Regions from separate parts of the Homo sapiens genome. Here region 1 is linked to region 2. Evidence: promoter capture Hi-C in human tissues and cell types (Jung and others, 2019). All regions are on one chromosome and are shown on one strand. Each heading gives the region's core, a stretch centred on a gene start or on the middle of the fragment in contact. The rest is flanking DNA. Distances are from core to core; before and after follow the strand shown. Region 1 has its middle 340 kb from the start of LINC01029. Region 2 holds the start of GALR1 (galanin receptor 1).

Region 1 (6,090 bases), core at 2,543-5,042, 410 kb before region 2:
TCTGCAGCAGGATTCAGTAAACCTTTTCTATCATGGGCCAGGTAGCAAATATTTTTGGCTTTGCAGGTGTCTTTGTCTGCTCAGCCACTGCTGGAGGATGGGGAAGGAGCAGTGTTGGTGATTCAACACCATTTCTCCGACCCTCTTCAGTGCCTCCTTCAGTGATATGAAGTTAAAACCAGGTACTATTATTATTAACCTGATTTTTTGGTTCTCATCAAGTTGCTTTTTTGTGTAGATAGTTGTTCGATTTGGTGTTCTTGCTGTAGTGATGATTGGTGAAGGCTTCTATCTTGCTATCTTGCTCTCCCCTCTCCTCAGGCACCTCTTGTTGGAAGTGCATAGCACCCCCACAGGCTGACTTACCAAAAATGTGATAGGAAAGATGACTTCATTCCTGGAGTTGGAGAGCAAGGCCCTGACTGATAGACTCAATCAAGGATTCACCTGGGCGATGGTGAAGAGTAGACATCAACACTTCCAGGTACAACTGGGAGATTATTTCCACCACCGAGGAAGACTGTTCCTATTAGATAAGGCAGTTTCAGGGACTGGCTGGTGTGCCGTGGAGAGCATATGAATGCTGTCGGGGGTTATACCAAAACACTCCCGGAATGGCCAAGACGAGAAGCAGAGAGACAGAAAACGTAAAAGAAACAACTAAGAGGCCAGGCTTTACAATTAAAATACTTATGTCAGAGGCTTGGGTCCATCCCATCAGTGTTTAGAGATGTCTAGGAGCATAGAAACAAGCAGATTTCAGGCCATTTCCTAGAAGGCAAGTTTTAAAAATGTATATATGTATATAACAGAACTAGAAACCCAGAAAGAGGAGGCTTTAGATGAGAAATGTGAGCTAAGCTGAGACTTAAATCAGGAGGGGGCAGAGGTGACTGTCAGTGAAATGCTTTATTCTAAGCACAGCCTGCCGGACCTGAGCACCATCCCCATTCCTTCCAGCCATAGAAGCTGGCTAGGAAGAGGAATTACTGAAGTGGATGTTGTGGTCACCACTCAGATTCTCCCTTAGGAGTGAGGCACTAACCCTCAGCTTCCCGGGCGATGGCTGTCAAAGTTGCCAGCTAAGTCTCTTAGAGTTGCCCTTGGCTGAGGGGTCATCCTGTCCACACAACGCATCCCACGAGGCCTCCCAGCATCCATGGGTAGTGCCTTTGCTTCATGCTGGGCATCCTGAAGGGCCATTCCAGCCTCAGAGCTCCTCAGGGGCCTCGGTCACCTCACAACTCAATTCCTTCTTCTGCTCAAAACTGCTTCCCCCAGTCCCTGAAAGGTGCTCTCTCAGCAGCATCCTCAGTAAACCTCCGGCATGCAAGTCTCCCTCTGAGAGTGTTTCCCAGGAAGCCCAAATTACCATGCAAGATGGTAACAGTCAACACCCCTGGCTGCAGCACTGTGGGAATTTTCAGGACATTAGGCTGCTGGGACCTGGCCGCTGCCTTTGTATAGCACATGTGTTGAATCCCTCTTAATCTGCTGTAATGCTTGTCCCCAGGACTTGCACAGAAAGATGATTGTAAGGAAGACATCTCCACCCCATGACTTAGAAATCAAGGGGCACTGAAGAAACTAGGCAATGCAGGACAGCAGCCATCTGCAGGAGGGAGGTCCCTCTGCATGAGCTCACAGCACTTGAGCCATCTGGAGGAGGGAGGTCCCTCTGCATGAGCTCACAGCACTTGAGCCATCTGGAGGAGGGAGGTCCCTCTGCATGAGCTCACAGCACTTGGGTCTTTGGTCTTCAGAAACTGCTATCAGTTGCTCTCTGTTGGTGAGGTGGTGACCGTGAGGCACTGCCCAGATGCCCCTTCAGGAAGTCCCCCAACTCCTTCGGTGCTGCTTCCCTCCTCACACTGGGCCTTCCTGGGGCAGCCCCCGCCAGCATGGGGCTACACAGATTGGACCCTTTCTGGAACTTGGGGCACCCCGGGGCTCCCCATTGGCTTGGCTGAGCCTCCTTTGAGATTGCATCATAGTTCAACCTGTCCCTTTCCCCAGCCCTATATGCTTCCCTTCCCTCCCTTCCCCCGGGGTGGACTGCAGGAACTTCCCTAATTAATGTCCTGTGTGCTGACCCCTGCCTGCAAGGCAGTTCCAGGGATCTCAAACTGGAGGGGTAGTGACGTCACTTCTTGATAAACAATTGGCACCGTTCCACGGAAAGCTCCAGGAGGATTAGGCTCCCCTAGCTCCAGCGTTGAAGTGAGTCAACCTCATGCCATCTTCTGTGGACACCACGGTGTTCCCAGGAGTGACAGCAGTGACGGATCCAGCCCTTCCCCTGCAGGTACTCACCCAGGCCTACAGGCCTCCCACGGACAGGGAAAGATGCTTTCAACACGGGCAGAGAACTGTTGATGCTTCAAGTCTCTGCCATCTGAGCGGAACGTGTTGGGGGCGGAGATTAACCTGTCATCAGTTGCGTTCTGGCATCTTCCCCTAAACAGAGCTCGGGGTGTGCTGAGTCTCCATCCTTCCCCCAGCGCCGCCTCCTCCGTGTGTCCTGTCAGGGAGATGAGGTGACTTTGTGTTTCTTCGCAGCTATGGGGAGATGAGGAGGGAATCGCCGGGTGTTGCGTCTTCCCTGTGCACCTGGGCCCTTAATCGTTGATGCTGCAGAGTGGCAGGGCACCAGAGCCCACCACAAGCCCCCGTGGAATCTACTGAGCTGAGGCCCCTCCAGCTCAGGTGTGCAGTGTGTGGTCTGAAGCCAGCCCTTCAGTCCCTGGCCCTGCTGCCCGATCCCAGGCTTCAGACATGTGGGGGATCCTCCCTCCGCCGGCCCCAGAGCGCTCGGTGAGGCCAGCGGCCCGCGGACTCTGTCTCCTGTGCTCCAGTCTGGCTTCTGCCTCCAGGCGACCACGGCACAAACCAGAAACGGTGGCTGAGGGCGGTCTGCAGCCTCCTGAGTGGTTTCCTGGGGGCACTGATCTGCGCTGGCCGCTCCGGGCTTCTCCACCTGGGCTCTTCCCAGAGCCTCCCTGAGTGGCGCTGAGGCCCGGGCACCTGAGTCATCCCTTCCTCCTTTAAACCTCTTTCCCGCGTTCCTGGCCAGAGGGGTAGCCTGGGCTTCGCTTACCCTCTTTCGTGTCATTAGGACTGCATTCCTTACCTAACATGATCCTGTCCTTATAAAATGCCAGATCCTTTTCCCTCCAGAAACCGGTACCATGACCTACTTTCAAGGTGCAAGAGGGAAAGAAGAAATGTACAAATAAAGGAGCAAAAACCTATAGTTACTGCAAAATTAAGACACATTCTATTCATGTTTAATGTGGAGGAATTTCAAAAATCTATAGTTACTGCAAAATTAAGACACATCTATTCATGTTAATATAGAGGAATTTTAAGGAGAAAAAATAAAATAGATCATAATACCACCTTCTCTGGCTCCTAGTCTGAATGAATTCTTCTTGGATGCTCCAAATTAAATATCAAAATTTTCTATTTCAGGCACTCCTCAGTATGGCTTATGGAAATACTGTGGGATATTGAAAACAAGGAAACTCCTCACCAAGAGAATTACTTTCTCTCTTCATAAATGAACCATGCGCTGTGCACAACACAAGTGGTGTGAATAGAGCCACCTGGCCCTGACTCTTTAGAGAAGATCTGTTAATAGAAAAGCACATTTTCTGAAATGATCCATGTGTAGGAACGTGCCAGGAGCCTGGGACTAAGAGCACAATCTCTGAGTCCCACAGCCCCTACTGGGGGCTCCATCCCCAGCACTGCAAGAATGGGAACATAGATCCATGTAGACAACTGTGTCCTGAAGAAGTGCACACAAACAGACCAGCACCCCAAATTCAGGATGGCTTGGGCTGCATTTAGGGGTTCAGTGGTCACTCGTGCTGCATTTGGGAGTGTGTACTTCCTTCATGTATGGCTGATGGAGATGAGGAAATGTTGTCATCCTATGATCTGTAGGATGGATTCATTTTAAAAGGTGCTCAGAGCTATCTCGGCAGGCCTTGCCATCTCTCAGAGGTGATGAGAAGGTGCTGGGGAATGTGTAATCCCAACACATGTGTCTCCTGAGACAACACGTTAGGTGTTAGGAAGCTTAAGACGGCCCTCAAGGGGAGGCAATTCTGCAGGAATGCCCTGGTAAGAACCAGTTCCTCCGAACCTCCGTGAAAAGTGTCCTACATGGTGTCTCCACATCATATGACCAGGGCACCCCCAAAGCAGAATGGCCCTCAACAGCAATGGGAACCCACACCCCCAGAGCCCTTGCACCTGCAGAGGTCAAAGGTTACCTGGTATTCAAGGCCCCAGTTGACTGATCAGGATGTTCCCGGTAAGAGTGTCTTTTCTGACCCTCCCCAGAACTAGGTTTTACACACAAATTCAAGTTTTGAAGATTTATAGACGAGAGATGATATAATATCTGGGCCACAACAGAAAAAAGCATAAGCAGCCAGGCATGGTGGCTCATGCCTTTAATCCCAACACTTTGGGAGGCCAAGGCGGGAGAATTGCTTGAGCCCAGGAGTTTGAGACCAGCCTGGGCAACATAGTAAGGCCCCGTCTCCACAAAAAATACACAAAAAGCTTAGCCAGGCATGGTGGCACGTGCTTTTGTCCCAGTTAGTCAAGGGGCTGAGGTGGGAGAATCCTTTGAACCCAGGACTTTGAGTCTGCCGTGAGCCATGTTCATGCCACTGTCCTCCAGCCTGGACAACAAAGCAAAACCCTGTTCCCCCACCAAAAAAAAAACCATGAGCTCTCTAGAAGGAAACCACCTGATGCTGAGGATGGTATAAATTGCTCATCAAACAGAACTCCTGGTTGTGGAATTGTTCATCATGGAAAAGCCCTGAGGATGTTGCACAGAGAGCCCCTTCCCTTGTGCCCATTCACCACAAACTATTTTATGTGTCTACTCTAGCTCCAGTCTCAATGTCACAGGGCCAGTGCCCACAGCAGCACTCAGGGCGTCATCATCAACTAGAGTCAACAAGGGACACAGAGGCCTCATCCACTGACTGAGCCAGGGTTGCAGGGGCTTCCCAGGCATGCGCCATGCTGTGGACTGAATTATCTCCCCAGGATTTGCATATGGAAGCCTAACCTTCAGTATGATGGTGTTTGGAGATGAATCCTTTGGGAGGTGATGAGAGTGAGATGAGGTCATGAAGGAAGGGTGAGGTTAGTGTCTTTCTGATAGGAGACTCCAGGGCATGCCCTCTCTCTGTCTCTCCACCAAGGGAGGGCACAGTGAGACAGTAGCATCTGCAAGCTGGGAAGCCATGGTGGATTTAACTGGCTGTGGAGGTGGAAGTGGCTTTAACTGGATGTGGAGGCGGAGGATTTTTATGACTCTGGGTTTAATGGTTCTAGCACAAAGTGGAAGAGGTCATGAGGCCAAAATGTTGGCGTTTTGTCTGCTAAACTCAATGGTAGACCCTGGTCTTCCAAGTGGCCCATTGGAAGAGCCTTCAGCCCACATCCTTCGCTGACTGAACGCAGGTGCATTTGCTGCCTTCTGCTGCTGGAACACCTGCTGCAAACCCCTGCTGGCCTGAAACAACACAAATGCATGATCTCCCGTGATGGAGGCCAGAAGTCTGAAATGGAACTCATGGGCTGGTACTCAGATGTCAGCAGGCTGCTCCTTCTGGGGGCTCAGGAGAGCCCCCAGCCCCTCCCCTTCTCCAGCTCCTGGAGGCCACCTGGACTCCTCAGCCAGAAGCGCAGTCAATGCAACCGATTGGCATCTTCAATCTCTCTTTGGCTGCAGCCCTCAGCCTCTCTTTCCATGTTTAAAGGGTCCCATGGGTATATTGGGTCCATGTGGATAATCCCCCTAAATTAACACCAGCCTATTAGCATAATTAATTCTACCCCCTTTGCAAGCTGACATCATCATATTCATTGTTTCTGGGGATGACGTTGTGAGCATCTCTGGTGGGAGAAGGAGAAGCATTATTCTGCCAGCCACTGTAAGATGGTCAGGAAATGGGGCCGAACTGGTGGCAACCAGGGAGTATCCACAGTTTCCCCTGTGTGATGAGAGGGAGAGCGGCTCACTGTGGAAAAAAAGGAAAGCCAGAGAAGCCTCTTCAT
Region 2 (6,026 bases), core at 1,100-3,599:
CTGAAGACGTTTTGATCAGTATAAAGTCTTCAAACCCTTGTGGACTTAATGAGAAAAAGAATGTGAGTGCTGAGCTCTGCCCGGCTGTACAAAGGGAAAAACTATCTCCCACACGCGTGGACGGTGCCTCTGCTACAGTTAGGGTGAAGACCCGCCGCCTCAACCACTTCACCCTGTTCAGGAGACCTTTCTAAAAAGGATTGAAATGGGGAAGCCGAAAGCTCGAGTCCATTCCATTCCAAGTTCCTGGAGCCTGCGGTCAAGACTCTGTAAAGAAACACCCTTTTGCACTTGGGTTTACAAAGCTAAGCTTCAGAATAAAATAAAATTCGAGGCTCTGTCCCCGGGAGCAGCGGCTTCACAGAGCCCGGTGTGCGCAAAGCCTTCGGAGCGAGGGCAAACTGCGCACCCCGGGGGAGAGGGGCCGCCCCGCGAGTCCCCCCCGCCACGGCCAGCTGAGAGCCCGGGAGGGAGCTGTGGGGACCCGTCACCCTCGCAAAAGGTCCGCGCTCTGGTGACCACCAGAGCTCTCCTCAGGTCCCACAGCGCCGCGGCGGTAACCTCCCCGCGCAGCTGATCTGGTTGAAGAGTTGCTGGAACCGAGCGGGGTTTGCTGTACCGGGAAGGATGCGGCAGCGCCCGCCTACCTACCGCCCAGGCAACCTGGGGGCGTTGAAGGGCCGCAGGGCCGAGGAAGGGGAGGGGAGGAGAAACTGGTTCTACTGGACCATGCGAAGTGAACTGCAAACTTTCCCCAGCATCTCTCAGACTCCAAGTAACTTTCTTGCGCAAGCCAATGGCACGCTCCAGCAGCGGCCAGGAAGCCTCTCTGCACAGATCCGTACCAGCGCCGCCAGAGTGGGGACCACCGGGGCCAGGCTGCCGCCAAGGCTCCGGCAGGGCCGCGGGACACTGAGACCCCAGGGCCCCCACCGGCCCTCCGCCCTCCCTCGCGCGTCTCGGCCCCGCGACCGGCGTGCACCTTGGCATAGCAGAAGCAGATGAGCAGGAGCGGCAGCAGGTAGCCGAAGACGAAGGTGCACACCACGTAGGCCTTCTTGTGGCGAGGGTCGGGCCACTGCTCCCAGCAGAAGGTCTGGTTGCTGGCGCGCGGGTGGAAGAGGCCCTGGTGGTAGGCCACGGGCGAGGCCATGGCAATGGACAGCGCCCAGATGCAGCCCACGCCCAGCAGCGCGTTGCGGGACACCCTGAGGGAGGAGGAGCGCCGCGAGTGCACGATGGCCACGTAGCGGTCCACGGACATCGCGGCCAGGGTGAAGATGCTCACCAGCATGGACACGGTGAAGAAGTAGTGGATGAACTTGCAGATGAAGGCGCCCAGCACCCAGGTGGGCAGCGCGTACACGGTGGCCTGGAAGGGGATGCAGAAGAGCAGGTAGGCCAGGTCGGCGATGCTCAGGTTGAGGATGAACAGGTTGGTGGTGCTCCGCGGCTTGCCCGGCTTGCTGCGCGCCAGCACGGTGATCACTAGGCTGTTGCCCAGCACACCCAGCGCGAAGATCAGGCCGAACACCACCAGCGTGACGAAGTTCTCCACGCCGATGCCGAACAGCGGCCCGGGCTCCGGGGCGGGGGGCTCCGGCCAGCTCGCGTTGCCCTCGCTGAGGTTCCCGACCGCCAGCTCCATGGCCCGCGGGGCTGTCCCGGCGAGCGGCGGGGCGCGCGGGGAGGGAGGGCGGGATAGTAGGCGCCGGGGGTGGCCAGGGGTCCCGGCGCAAAGCACGGAGAGTGCGAGTTTAGGAGTCTGAGCTTCCCCCGAGGCGCGAGCCAGCGGGAGCGGGGATCCGGTGGCCGTGCCTGGTGGCACCGTCTTTGCGCCGGGACCTTCTGAGAGAGGGTGGGTTCGGGAGCCCGGAGCTGGACCTTCTCGGGAAGGGACGGTGATCTCGAGAGCACTGGGGTCCCCTTCCCGGGCGCCTCCGCCCGCTGCGCGACCACGGAGCCTGGGAAGAGGGATCCGCCGGCTGCAGCCGCGCAGGTGGAAAGACCCTTCTCTCCGCCTTACCGCTCCAGATCTTCGCCGGCGGTTTTCCCTGGCTCCCGGAGGGGCTGCGTGCTGCACCTGTTGCTCGGAGCCGCTCCTTCCCGCGGCGCTTCCCCGCACTGCCCAGCGCGCAGCAGTGCACTGTGCGGCTCCTGCAGAGAAGGCTCCCCGCGCATCCCGCGCGCCCAGCGCCACCTCCCCAGTGGGCTGGCGCCTCCGACTCCCTCCCGGCTTTTCCAGGGATTCCGAGTCGTCCACAGGGCGAGAGCTCTTTTGGGAGGCTTCCTGGTGGTGGATAGAGTCGGGTGCCAGGGGCTTCTCTGCTGCAACTGAGAGGCGAAAACAGCTCGGCTGAAATCCGCGCCCCTTAGAAGTCACGGTGCGCGAGCAGAGACTGGACGGATTCTAGCGGGATGGGTCGCCGCCCACCTCCCGGCTGGAACCGGAGCGCGCTCGCCTCTGCGGAGTGCGGACCTGCCCGGCGGGCTGAAGGCGGGGCTGCCGGATGCCGCGGGCCAGGCGGGCGAGGGAAGCCGGGCGCGCTCCAGGGCGTTCCAGGGCGCGCCGGGGTGGGAGGCGGAGGGGTGCGCGGGCCTCCTCATCCATTAGTGCCTTTCCTCCTCCTCCTCCCCAGGGTGGCTGTCCGTGAGAACGCCTCTCTCCCAGGAATAACCCCAGGAAATCGAGGCTGGCGACGCTCCCTGGAGTTTTGTAAAATTGGCCGCCTAATCCCACCCTCACCCCGCGGCCTGCTACAGAGGAGAGAAGTGCAAAGGGAAAGGGCCGCGTGAGCTTCTCTATAGACGTGGCTGACATGGAAGGGGAAGGCTGTTCACACCACCCAACCTCACTTCATTTTTGCCTTGTATTACTCATCTGAGGGACATAAACTGCAGCAGTGACAAACGAAATATTTTTAAAGTGAAAGAAAGTGTTTAGTATCTTACTGCCGTAAATGTGGATTTGCCAGAAAGAAATTAAGCCGTTTCGGTATAGCAGGGCCAGTCACGTTAGCTTTGTAACCTTGGTGGTTCCCAGCTAGAGAGCTGACACTGATTCCTTTATTTGCGGTGATTTGTCTGTTTTCACTTTCAAAAACACCGATGCGTTTCCAGCATTCACCATCTGGTGACTGTCCATTATGCGCGGACGCAGTGCCTGAGGGGATGGGTAATCCAAAGACCAAAGAGGGCAGGGGCTCTTTGCCTTGAGGAGTTAAGGAAGTAGGATCTTGTTTTTCTACCTTGCTAGCTCTGTTCTGCCTCATTTCCAGATAAATCTTGATGCAGTTCATTGAACATCTATGTATTTTATCTACATTCATTGCTAGGGAGTTCCTTGCAAGGGAATTGTTCTATTCACACACATTTTCTGGAAGACAAAATTGAGTGTAAGCAACTTGCCTATTTGGGTATCCTGCTAAAGCCAAGAATGCTCTTACCTGCCCCGACCTGAGAGAATGCCTTGAAACTTCCTCAGGTGATCTTGCCAATCCGTATTGCTTTTCTTCCCTGAGACGCTCTCCGACCCAGGCTTTCAAAGTATCATGTTGTATTTGACAGCTCTGTTGCATTGAAAGTTAGTAGTAATATGATTTGGGAGAGTTTTTAAATTATGAACTATTTTCACATGAAACAGATATGATAAAATTACATTGAATACCAATGCACCCACCATCTAGCTTAGAATAATTTTTAAATATTATCACTAGAGTTGAAGTCACTTTTATATATTTTCCAGTCACAACCTCCACCTCTCCCACTATCTCCAAGTAACCTAAATTTGTTGTCTATTAGTCATTTCTTTATACATTTTTGGCATACGCATATGATCTTAATATATTGTGGTGATTTTTTTTTTTTTTTTTTTTTTTTTTGCTTTAACATTATGTGGTTGGTATTATGGTACATGTTTTGTTTGTTTTTGCCTTAAAGTATAATTTGTCTGTTATTGCTATAAGTACAACAACATTCTTTGCTTTGTATTTGCCTGTTACATCTTTTACAGCCTTCCTATGTTATGTCCTGCAATTTAAAGGTATCTCTTTAATATAGCACATAACTGAATTATTTTAAAACACAATTTTAAAATCTCTAGTTTTTAACTGGTGAGTTTAGGTCATTTATATTTATTGTTATTACTAACCTATATGGATTTATTTTTAACATTTTATTTTGTACTTTTTATTTGTTTTCTATTTCTGTGCTTTTTCTCTCTCTCTCTCTCTCTCTTTTCATGACATCTTTTGAATTGCATTTTAAAGTGTTTTCTCCCTCCCTCCACATTCTTGGAAAAGGAAGAAATATAGTGTATATTTATTGTTTTACTGGTTACCCTTGAGTGCCTACTATGTGCCAGGAACTATTGTAGGTTCTGGAGATAGAGCAATTAACACAACAAAGTACTTTCTTTTATGGATTTTACATTTCATTATGGACACGACATTTAAAAATAAATAAAATGATAATGTCACATGTGGTAAACACTACTGATATACTTTAGATATCTGTCCTCGCCAAATCTCTTATTGAATTATAATCCCTAATGTTGGAGGTGGAGCCCAGTGGGAGGGTTTGGATCAATGGGGTGGATCCCTCATGGCTTGGTGCTGTCCTCGGGACAGTGAGTCTGAAGATCTGGTTGTTTGAAAGTGTGTGGCACCTCCTCCCTTCCCTCTCTTGCTTCCGCTCCTGCCATGTAAGATGTATCTGCTCCCCCTTCACCTTCTGCCATGATTAGAAGCTTCCTGAGACCTCCCCAGAAGCTGAGCAGATGCCAGCACCATGCTTCCTGTACAGCCTGCAGAACTGTGAGCCAATGAAACCTCTTTTCTTTATAAAGTACCCAGCCTCAGGTGTTTCTTTATAGCAATGCAAGAATGGCCTAATACAACCCTAAAAGAGAAGAATGCAGGATAAGGGATAGAGAGCAGTTAGAGAGTATAACTATATACAGGGCAATAGGGAGAAACATCTGAAAAACTGACATTTGAGTAGGAACCTGAAGGAAGTACAGAAGGAAACCTTTTAAACACGTGGCATGACACATTCCCGGGAAACAGTGCAGCAGAGGAAGCTGTGTGAAGAACGAGGAGTACAGTTTTGCTGTCATGGAAACAGCTGGGAAGAAGATTTGTCAGCCACGAGGTCAGAAAACATTGGTTCAGGAAAATGGGGATGGATGACCTCAGACCTTGGAGAGCAAGGAAGGGGCCTGGGACTTCATTCTGGACTTCGGAGGAAGTCCTATAGGGAGTTTCAAGCAGAGAGATGTTATGCTCTGACCTGCGATTCAGAATGATGATTCTGGAGTACAGATTAGAAGAGCAAAGAAAAGAGCAGAAGACCAACCAGTAAGCTTGCAGGAACCCAGACAACAGATCGTTCTAGGTGTGGTGGGAAGGACCTGGATTCTGGATATCTCAATGTTGTAGCAAATGAGATTCGTTGGTGGATGGATTTAAGGTGGGAGAAAAGGGAGAGCAAGGTTGACTACCACGGTTTTAGTCTGACAGCCTGGATGGGAAATCACCATTTACTGAGTTGACACAAAGAGTGGAAGGAACAGGTTTGGAGGTGTGGAGCATCAAGTTAAATTTTAGGTGCTTGCTAGACATGGGACTGACAAGACTGCAGTTGGGTGGATTAGTCTTGAGTTAATGAGAGAGACCAGAGCTGGAGACATGGATTCAGAAGTTACTAAAATTCTATTAATATTAAATAGAATTTAAAATTAATTGTTATCACTCCCCTTCTCCCAAGCCATACAAGTTTCAGGAAGCCTTCTAACTCCAGTCACTTTTTGTCATTCTACCTGGTTTTGTTGCCCAGTTGTTTAGTTCTTTTAATTTCCCCCCAATTCGGCATATTTGTTGTGTGATACAGGCAATATCCAGTTTGGTGACCCACATTCTTACCCATGGCTTTCTGCACCTTCCTCTATTCATCTTAAGCCTTTTCCTTGTTTTTAGAGAATATATTTTAAGTTTTCCTTTAGTGATAGTCAATGATAAAAATTGCTC

What was found. The method cuts DNA at HindIII sites, captures the fragments that hold promoters and counts their contacts. A contact is called where the count stands out against the background at its distance.
Region 1: a fragment that was not itself captured here is called in contact with the fragment with the promoter of GALR1 in region 2 in 1 of the 25 tissues and cell types used here (spleen).

The regions. Positions count from the first base shown.
Region 1 is chr18:77,654,539-77,660,628 of GRCh38, reverse strand. No RefSeq gene overlaps it. Among named protein-coding and RNA genes, the nearest start is that of LINC01029, 340 kb to the left of the region's middle. RefSeq lists an enhancer at 1,393-2,354. The HindIII fragment of the contact is 5,299 bases long and covers 1,143-6,090 here.
Region 2 is chr18:77,246,171-77,252,196 of GRCh38, reverse strand. GALR1 (galanin receptor 1) reads right to left here and starts at 2,349. Exons shown (of 3, transcript NM_001480.4): 1 at 983-2,349. The coding sequence starts at 1,648. LOC124904329 (a long non-coding RNA gene) reads left to right here and starts at 746. Exons shown (of 2, transcript XR_007066422.1): 1 at 746-1,349; 2 at 2,640-4,488. RefSeq lists enhancers at 699-1,370, 2,042-2,713. The HindIII fragment of the contact is 7,211 bases long and covers 1-5,055 here.